2 separate regions of the Homo sapiens genome follow, and region 1 is linked to region 2. Evidence: promoter capture Hi-C in human tissues and cell types (Jung and others, 2019). All regions are on one chromosome and are shown on one strand. The core of a region is centred on a gene start or on the middle of the fragment in contact, and the rest is flanking DNA. Distances in the headings are between cores, read along the strand shown. Region 1 has its middle 53 kb from the start of TTI1. Region 2 holds the start of CTNNBL1 (catenin beta like 1).

Region 1 (4,573 bases), core at 430-2,929, 290 kb before region 2:
CCCCGTCTCTACTAAAAATACAAAATTAGCTGGGCGTGGTGGTGTATGCCTGTAATCCCAGCTACTCAGGAGGCTGAGGCAGGAGAATCACTTGAACCCAGGAGATGGAGGTTGTGGTGAGCCAGGATTGCGCCATTGCACTCCAACCTGGACAACAAGAGCGAAACTCCATCTCTAAAATAAAAAATAAATCTCTTTTAATGTGTAGATTTCCCCCTCCACCTCTCTCTCATTTTCCTTGTAAGTTTTTTGGTGGAGAAACACGGTCATTTTTCCTACAGCATTTCCCACCGTCTGGATTTATTGATTGCATCCCTATGGAGGTCATTTCTTGGGCCCCTCCTCTCACCTGTGTTTCCTGGCCATTGGGAGGCAGAGTAAGAGTCGTGATCAGGATTGAGTCTCTTAGCTTTGTTTTTGGCACTTCTCCTCCATAGGTGGTGTTACGTACTTCCATCAGGAGGTATGTAAGTCTGATCTTACTGTGTTATTAGCAACCATGGTGATCTCACTGGAATCCACACACTCATTAGGGATTGCAGAGTAATGCTGTTCTAATTCTGCCATGCTGGCTTGCTGTTAACCAGAGTCCTTGTGTAAGGGGAACCTTCCCTTCATCAACCATCTGGTAACCTACCGGTACAGTTTGTATGGAAAAGGCAAGATGGCACCTGCCTGTAATCCCGGCTACTCGGGAGGCTGAGGAGGAGAATGGCATGAACCAGGGAAGGCGGAGGTTGCAGTGAGCAGAGATCGCGCCATTGCACTCCAGCCTGGACGACAGAGCAATACTTCGTCTCAAAAAGAAAAAAAAAAAGAAAAGAAAAGGCAAGATAAATACTCGATTTTTTTCTAGCTGAGAAATTTAAAACACACAGATTATGTAAATTGAGGTGCACATCCCACCCCAGGGCTCCCATGTATGCTGAAGGATCCCAGGGATGATGAATGCTTCCTCACAGGTGCATGGTGAGGCACCGGCTAGATCACAATTCCGGTGACATAGATAATCCCCAAACTCTTAAAAAGCCCAGAGGGTGCCTGGCATGGGGACATATTGGTGTGAGGGTCCCCAGCCAGCTCTGGAGAGGCCCCACTCAATTCCTTCTCCACTCCGCCCTGCAAGGGCCGAGTTATGTCCAGCTCCAGTCTCGGTGGCGGCAGCCTGGCTCTGTCTGGCTCCTGAGCCCTCAGGGAATCCTTCTCTTGGGGCTTTTTTCAGTTCTGCAGCCTGTAAAGTGGAGGGATTGGACCAGAGGGGGAGCTCTTCATCTGTTGGGATTGTGGGGACCCACTCCCCAGAAACTTGCTCCCGCTCCTCCCTTGTTACCCCCAGGAGGGCACTGCATCCTCCAAGACTGCAGTGGGCACTATCTCATCTGCTGAGGATGCTTCACTGACCTCACAAGATTCCATGTACAATTCCAGAGGCTTCACCTGTGACCCCGCAAGGACCCCAAGTTAAGAACCCCCTCAAAGAGCAAGATAATCACTTAACTCTCTTTGAGCTTTAAAATTCTGGGATGATTTCCTTTGGAAAAAGGGAGGGAAATGCCTCTAATTACGGAGATGGTAAAAGCATTCACAGCATTGTTCCTAATTCCACTGGGGACCCAAAGTGATAGGCTAATTCAGTCTCCAGATTCTGACAAATGAGAAAACAGGTCAGGGAGGTGGCATGACTTGCTGAGCATTACTTAGCTCTCCCGGTGAGATTAAAGTAGCCTGCCTTCGCAGAGCATCTGGGTGTGGCAAGCCGCGATGCTGTCCTGAGAGGCCAGGAAGATGTGCACACGCATCCTGATAAAAACTTGGACTCTGCGAAAGCTCTCCAGGAGATAATCAGCATAAGAGGATACACCATGGCTCTCCGAAAACCCACTTCTTCCTCAAAGAGTTAAGCTATCTTGAGTTGCTTTCAGATTCTTGCAGGCAGATTGTTGCACTTGATTTAAAAAAAAAAAAAATCTCATTAGAGTGCATCTCCAGTTATGATTATATTCAGGCAACTTTAATTTTGAACCTGTCCAGCTGACTCAGTCTAGTCCTTGTTAACATAAGCTTTGCAAAATACTCCATTCCCCCTGTTAAAACTTGTGGAGTAATAGGGGTTTCTTATTTCACTCAGGGCGCACCAGCACTTCAAGTATTGTTTGGGCTGGGGTTAGGGGTTGGTATAGAATGAATAAGTAGATACTGCAAGGCCTTGAATTTCAGCTTGAGATGTTTGAGCCGTGATCTGCAGGCTGTAGAAGGCTCCTGGAGGATGCAGGAAAGTATAGACCTGGACCCAGGGGATCCTTGGAGATGGCTGGAGGGGGGTGGCTGTGGTCTTCAGAAGGCACTGTGTTGTGGAAGGAGCATGGATGATTTGGAGTTCCTCAGCGCTGGGCTTCATTTCTGACTCCGCCTCTCTGTAACCGTGTGACCTTGGGCAAGTCATTTTACTTCCGAGCTGCATTTTCCCATCTCTGAATTAGAGCTGTTGCCACTGCCTCTTCAGGCAGCTGCATCAGAGGGGATGGATGCGGTAGTGTTTCTAAAGCATCTGACACTGTGCCTGGGGCTCCAGCAACATCTTTCCCCCGCTGCCCATGGCTTTGTTATGGCTGCAATACACACTCCTCTTGACGGTTACAGCCGAGGAAGTAGATGGTTAGGTCTCAGCATGTACCACCCAGAAACTAAAATAGAACCACGGTAGGGTGAGAGAATCAAAGAAGGCTTCTAGGAGGAGGTGACGTCCTAGTGGACAAGTAGATTTCAGCAGACAGAATAATGGGCATTCCAGACAGGAAAAATCACATGCCCAAAGAGCTGTGGGCATACCTGCCAGTATCTGTACACATCATAACTCGGTTGGGAGTGACAGGAGACCCAATTCAAAATTGGCTTGAGCAAAAAAAAAAATACCTTGGCACACAGAACGAAGAGGCCCCGCAGGCACAGCTCCCCCAGCCTGTCTGTCTTCTGATGCTGCTTTCCCCAGTGGTGGCTTCACTCTGACTCCAGGCTCCTGTTCCTTCAGCATCACACACCCAAGTGAATGTGCACCTCCTAACAGCTCTAGCCAAAGGCCTAGGATTGGGTTGGATTTTTAGAGATGGGGTCTTGCACTGTTGCCCAAGCTGACCTGGAACTCCCGAGCTCAAGAGATCCTCCCACCTCAGCCTAAATCCTAGGATTTGCTCTCATTGGCTCAGCCGGTGCTTTGCCCAGCCCCAAACCAAACTTGGTCCATCTACAACGGGTGTCAGCAACTTTCTCTGTAAAGGGCCAGAGTGAATCTATTAGGGTTTACAGGCCATACATAAAGGTCTCTGTGGCATCTTCTTTGACTTTTTTTTTCTTACAATCTTGTTGTTGTTGTTGTTGTTGTTGTTGTTGTTGCTGTTGTTGTTGAAACAGGGTCTTACTCTGGTAGCACAGGCTGGAGTACAGTGGTATGATCTCAGCTCCCTGCAGCCTCAATCTCTCTGGCTCAGATGATTCTCCCACCTCAGCCTCCCAAGTAATCTGGGTTTACAGGCGCACACCCCCATGCCTGGCTAATTTTTTGTATTTTTAGTAAAGATAGGATTTTGCTGTATTGCGAACCAGGCTGGTTTCAAACTCCTGGACTCAAGCAATCAGCCCACTTCAGCCTCCCAGAGTGCTGAGATTACAGGTGTGAACCACCGTGCTGGGCCGCAATCTTTTAAAAAACGGAAAAATTCTTTTTTTTTTTGAGACGGGAGTCTCGCTGTGTCGCCCAGGCTGGAGTGCAGTAGTGCAGTCTCGGCTCACTGCAAGCTCCACCTCCCGGGTTCATACCACTCTCCTGCCTCAGCCTCCCGAGTAGCAGGGACAACAGGCACCCGCCACCATGCCCGGCTAATTTTTTTGTATTTCTAATAGAGATGGGGTTTCACCGTGTTAGCCAGGATGGTCTCGATCTCCTGACCTCGTGATCCGCCTGCCTCGGCCTCCCAAAGTGCTGGGATTACAGGCTTGAGCCACTGCGCCTGGCCAAAAAAAAAAAAAAACGGAAAAGTTATTAGCTCAAGGGCCTCACAAAAAATAAGCCAGGGGCCTTTGTTTTTTTGTTCATTGGTGGTTTGTTGTTTTTGCTTTGCCCTCGGACCTTAGTTTGCCAACCCCTGAACTGCAGCAATCTCGGGGACAAGTCTGGAGACACCCACACCATATGGAGAAAGAGTTGAGGTGGAGTGGTTTCCCTAAAAGAAAGCACTGTGTTTGGTTACCAGGAAGAGAGATGCTGGGATCGGGGAGGGCATATATGACAGGCACTCACCACCCTGTATTTGTGGCCTGTGACACGTGTGGTGTGGCAGTCTGGGAGAGTGAATGTGAGGAGGTTGTGGGCGCTGAGGCCACATTTATGGAAGGCCTTGAATGCCAATCTGAGTATCCCAGCCTTAAGGGATCAAGAAGTGGCCTTGGAAGGTCCTTGAACAGGTGAATAATGTATTGAAAGCAGGATGTTAGGAATATTCATCTCGTGGCAGCATACGGGAGAAATTGGAAGGGAGAGAGACTGGCAATGAAATTGTATTTCTGAAAGTCCCAGGAC
Region 2 (5,011 bases), core at 106-2,605:
TGTCTCTACAAAAAATTTAAAAATCAGCCAAGCATAGTGATGCCTGCCTGCAGTCCTAGCTACTTGGGAGGATACCTTAGACCTAGGAGTTTAAGGCTACTGTGAGCAATGATTGTGCCACTGCACTCCAGCATGGGCGACAGAGCAAGATCCTGTCTCTAAATAACAATAAAATAAAATTTTAAAAATTAATTAAGTATATTTTATTTCACCCATTATCCAAAATATGATCATTTAATCAATATGACCAATAACCAATGTAATTGATATAATCAGTACGATCATGTAATCAATATAAAAATTTCACTTTTTCCATACTAGTCTCCAACCCAAATGTGTCTTTATACTTACAGTATTTCTCAATTCAGACTAGTCACATTTCAAGCAATCAACAGCCTATGTGGCTAGTGGCTACGACATTCGGCAGTGCAGCTCTACTGCTCCTCGCAATGACCCTCCTATGGAATCAAAGTGGGGGAAAAACTTTGGGGTGGAAGTCAGTACGCCTGAGCTCAAATTCCAGCTCCTTGTTTCTGAGTGACTTTGGACAAGCCCTTTCTGCTCTCTAGGTCCCATACAGTTTCCCCACAAGTTTCCTAGGCAAGGGGGACCCTGAGCAAGATTCCTAGAAACTCATTCCATGCTAGAATTCCCAACATCTCCTGCAAATCGCAGTAAACACAAGCACAGCTTTCCACACTTTAAAACCAGCTTTCATACATATCAGTTGGTACAGTCCTCAAACAACCCTACTAAGGCAGTTATTAGTGTCTCCACTATATAGATACAAAAACTTGGTTCAAAGAGGGGGGGAATGACTTGTCCAAAAGCCACATAGCCAGTCAGTGGAGAAGCTGGAGATCAAATCCAAGTGAGACCAGTGCACTCCCACCGCCGCCACCACCATCACCTCAATGACTGGGGGGACATGAGAGCTGAGAGGACATGGTTGTGAAAAAAAGGATAGTCTGGGGTTTCAGAGGAGTTTCAGGGAACCAGGCCCCAGGGTGAGGAAGAGGAGGTGAAGGGCTCAGGTCTTGAGAAGGGATGAATCGAAAGGGCCCAGGAGGGCTTCGGAGAGCAAAGTAAAACGAGGGGCTGAGACCCCGGGTGGCATGAGAAGTTAGAGGGCCCGGGAGTGAGGCGAGAGGAGGTGAGATGAAAGGGCTCTGGCTCCTGCGACCCCTGCCCAGGTGAGAACGCGGTCGCTCGGCCCTCCCTGCCCCTCATACCTGGTAGCTCAGAAGTTCGCCCACGTCCATGGTACCCGGCCCAGCAAATACTCCACTTCCCTGCACTCACGCCCAGACCGCGGGCCCGTCAGCCGCGGCTCCAGCCACACTGCCGTAAAGTGCGGCGAGCGGAGCCGCAGAGCCAATAGGGCAAAAGTGCGAGCGACAAGCGAGCCGGCCACACCGCGGTAAAAGGACGCGCCGCCGTAAAGCGCGCTGCATTTGGAACAGGGTTGCTTCCGCCTGGAGCCTGAGGGGGCGGGGAAAGGGGGCGGAGACTTAGAGGAGGGGCGGGAGGGGAGAGCAGGGACCAGAAGAAACCAAACTTGATTGCGCGTCCCTAGTGTCCAGGGCGGAGTGCCGGGTGTTTCGTGTGCGCTCTCACGAGCTTCCAGTGATTTATCCTCATTTCACAGAAAAGGAAACTGACGCTCCCAACTGCACCATCCAATACTTTACTCACTAGCCACATATGGCTACCGAGCGCTTGAGATATGGCTACTCCGAAGTGAGATGTGCCATAAGTGTAAATAAAATACACACCAGATTTCTAAGACTTACATTGATTACAGGTTGAAATGATATTTTGGATATACTGGGTCAAATTCATATATTATAAAATGAATTTTACCTGTTTCTCTTTACTTCTTAAATGTGGTTAGTAGAAAGTTTTAAATTACACATGTGGCTCTCATTTGTGGTTCCCATTAATTTCTATCAGATAGTGCTGGCTCAAAAAGTGACTTGTTCCAAGGCTGTACAACTATTACTGGCTGAGAAACTATTGGTGATCACATGTCCCTCTCTAGGCTTGTGTCTGCTCATCTATGCGAAGTCTAACGGTCACTAGATGATCCCCTTGCTACCCAGGTGATATAAAAAGGTTTCTGGAGGAGAAAGTTGCCCATAATTGGAAGAGAATCATTCAGAGTGCATCTGATCTTAAACAAGATCAGAATGCACCTGGGACTTAAGGCTCCATCTTCAAAGGAAATTAAACCTCCTTCCATAAGCCCCTGTCCTTTATATTTATAATTATATTTATGTATTATATTATATTTATATGCCCTTCATATTTATAATTTTGGTCCCCATCCCATCTGCACTGGCTCCAATTATACAGAAATTATTCTTATTCCTCAGAATGACAAATCCTCTCCCCTTCTGCCTGGCCATCAGCACCATACCTCATCCAATTCTCTCATCTTTCGGGTCTCAAATGTCACTTTCTTACAAGGGCTTCTTCAACTCACCCTGGTCCAGGTAATCAACCTCTCTCCTCATTATTCTTTTTCCAAGTACCTGCTCCACTACGTATATATCTCATTCTGTAATTTTGTGCTTAATGGTTGACTATTTGTTTCTTGACAGCCTCATTTACTGGATTGCAAGCTCTATGCAAGCAGGACATGTGTGTGTCATGTTCACCACTGTATCCCCCAAGCCTAGTACAGTGCCTGGTAGAGGGAGAGGTTTCATAATGGGCCTTGTGTGCCATGGTAAAGAGATTAGATTTTGGCTAGGCGTGGCCGGGCGTGGTGGCTCACGCCTGTAAGCTCAGCACTTTAGGAGGCCAAGGCGGGCAGATCACTTGAAGTCAGGAGTTTGAGACCAGCCTGACCACCATGGTGAAACCTCGTCTCTACTAAAAATTACAAAAATTAGCTGGGCATGGTGGCACATGCCTCTACTTGGGAGGCTGAAGCAGGAGAATCGCTTGAACCCAGGAGGCAGAGGCTGTAGTGAGCTGAGATTCCACCACTGCACTCCAGCCTGGGTGACAGAGCAAGACTCTGTCTCAAAAAAAAAAAAAAAAAAAAGAGAGAGAGATTGGATTTTATGCTAACGGCATAAGGAAAGTTTTAAGCAAGGTAGTTTTGTGACTGGGCTTATGTTTTTAAAGGATCACCTATGCAATCTGCATTGAATTCAGTCTATTTGGGTGTCTTTCCCCCTCCTACTTATATAAGAATATGGACTGTGCCCGGCCGGGTGTGGTAGCTCACGCCTGTAATCCCAGCACTTTGGGAGGCCGAGGAGGGCAGATCACGAGGTCAGGAGATTGAGATCTTCCTGGCCCACATGGTGAAAACCCATCTCTACTAAAATACAAAAAATTAGCCAGGTGTGGTGGCACGTGCCTGTAGTCCCAGCTACTTGGGAGGCTGAGGCAGGGGAATCGCTTGAACCAGGGAGGTGGAGATTGTAGTGAGCCAAGATGGCACCACTGCACTCCAGCCTGGCGACAGAGCAAGACTACGTCTCAAAAAAAAAAAAAAAAAATAGAATATAGACTGTGCCTTGTTTGGGAAGACAGGAGAGAGTAATGGTGAGGGTGTACCCTTTGGACCCAGACCCCTGTGTTCTAGTTCATGGTATGTTGATGCCAGCTTGCACAGACAGGTCTACAAAAGCCCATGGTTAAATTTGTAGGAAACTTGCAAGCTGATTGACACCAGGTTGATAGCTTGAAATCAGCCATGCTAGGAGTATTTGTACAATGTAAATCAGCAAATGCTACAAATCAGGGTTGTTAATGTTGTTGTTTTTCCAGAGAGCTACTTGTAGGGTTTTTTTGTTTCTTTGTTTGCTTTTGAGACAAGCTCGGGCTCTATCACCCAGGCTGGAGTGCAGTGGCGGGATCTCAGCTCACTGCAACCTCCCCCTCCCGGGCTGAAGCCCACCTCAGCCTCCCAAATAGCTAGGACTACAGGCGTGCGCCACCATGCCTGGCTTATTTTGTTGTTGTTGTTGTTGTTGCTGTTGTTGTAGAAATAGAGTTTCACCATGCTGCCCAGGCTGGTCTCAAACTCATGAGCTCAAGCAATCCCCCCGCCTTGGCCTCACAAAGTGCTGGGATTACAGGCATGAGCCACTGCACCCAGCCGAGCCAGTTGTTAAACATCTACCCAACACACCCTGATTCTGGTTCTAGTGGAAGTTCCACCATATCTAGCCATGGGTCCTTGGGTAAGTTACTTTCTCTGTCCCTAAATTACACTTTCCTTATCTGTAACATGACTCATTCATTCATTCATTCATTCAACAAGTATTTACTGAGAGCCTACTCAATGCTAGGCACAATTCTGGGCTCTGAGGATATGGAAGTTTATAAAACAAAGCTCCTGCCTTCTGGAAACCTACATTCTAGTTTGGGTGAAAACCTCATGGAGAAAATGTTGATATGAGTCTTATTTTACAGATGTGGAAACAGTGGCAATGAACTTCACCTCTACATGCCTGATTTTCTCACCTGCAAAGTGGAGATTCAACCAAATCTACCTCATAAGGTTATGGAGGGTTTACATGAAATGCTGTATGCAAAGCACTTGGCACAGTGCCTGGCACAGAAAAGTGCTGTGTGTCTTATATTAATATTGTAAGGAGTTGGCAGCTGGGCACGGTGGCTCATGTCTGTAATCCCAGAGCTTTGGGAGACCAAGGCGGATCCCTTGAGCCCAGGAGTTCGAGACCAGCCTGGGCAACATAGTGAGACCCTGTCTCTACAAAAAAATAGAAAAAAAATTTAGCCAGATGTGGTGGCACGTGCCTGTAGTCTCGGCTACTCAGGAGGCTGAGGCTGGAGAATCACTTGAGCCCAGGAGGCAGAGGTTGCAGTGAGCCAGGATTGTGCCACTGCATCCTGGGTGACAGAGCAAGACCTTGTCTCTCAAAAAAAAAAAAAAAAAAAAGAAAGAAAAAGGAGTTGAGTGGGATAGGGGCAAGGGAGAGGGCAGGAAGAATGAGAGAATTCCTTATAACCTTTCCTTTTTAGGCAA

Evidence for each region. The method cuts DNA at HindIII sites, captures the fragments that hold promoters and counts their contacts. A contact is called where the count stands out against the background at its distance.
Region 1: a contact is called between a fragment that was not itself captured here and the fragment with the promoter of CTNNBL1 in region 2, in 1 of the 25 tissues and cell types used here (IMR-90 fibroblasts).

What each region holds. Positions count from the first base shown.
Region 1 is chr20:37,977,761-37,982,333 of GRCh38, reverse strand. No RefSeq gene overlaps it. Among named protein-coding and RNA genes, the nearest start is that of TTI1, 53 kb to the left of the region's middle. The HindIII fragment of the contact is 8,966 bases long and covers 1-4,573 here.
Region 2 is chr20:37,690,374-37,695,384 of GRCh38, reverse strand. CTNNBL1 (catenin beta like 1) reads right to left here and starts at 1,355. Exons shown (of 16, transcript NM_030877.5): 1 at 1,233-1,355. The coding sequence starts at 1,262. LOC105372609 (a long non-coding RNA gene) reads left to right here and starts at 4,109. Exons shown (of 4, transcript XR_936703.1): 1 at 4,109-4,202; 2 at 4,435-4,522. RefSeq lists an enhancer at 1,018-1,077. The HindIII fragment of the contact is 21,229 bases long and covers 1-5,011 here.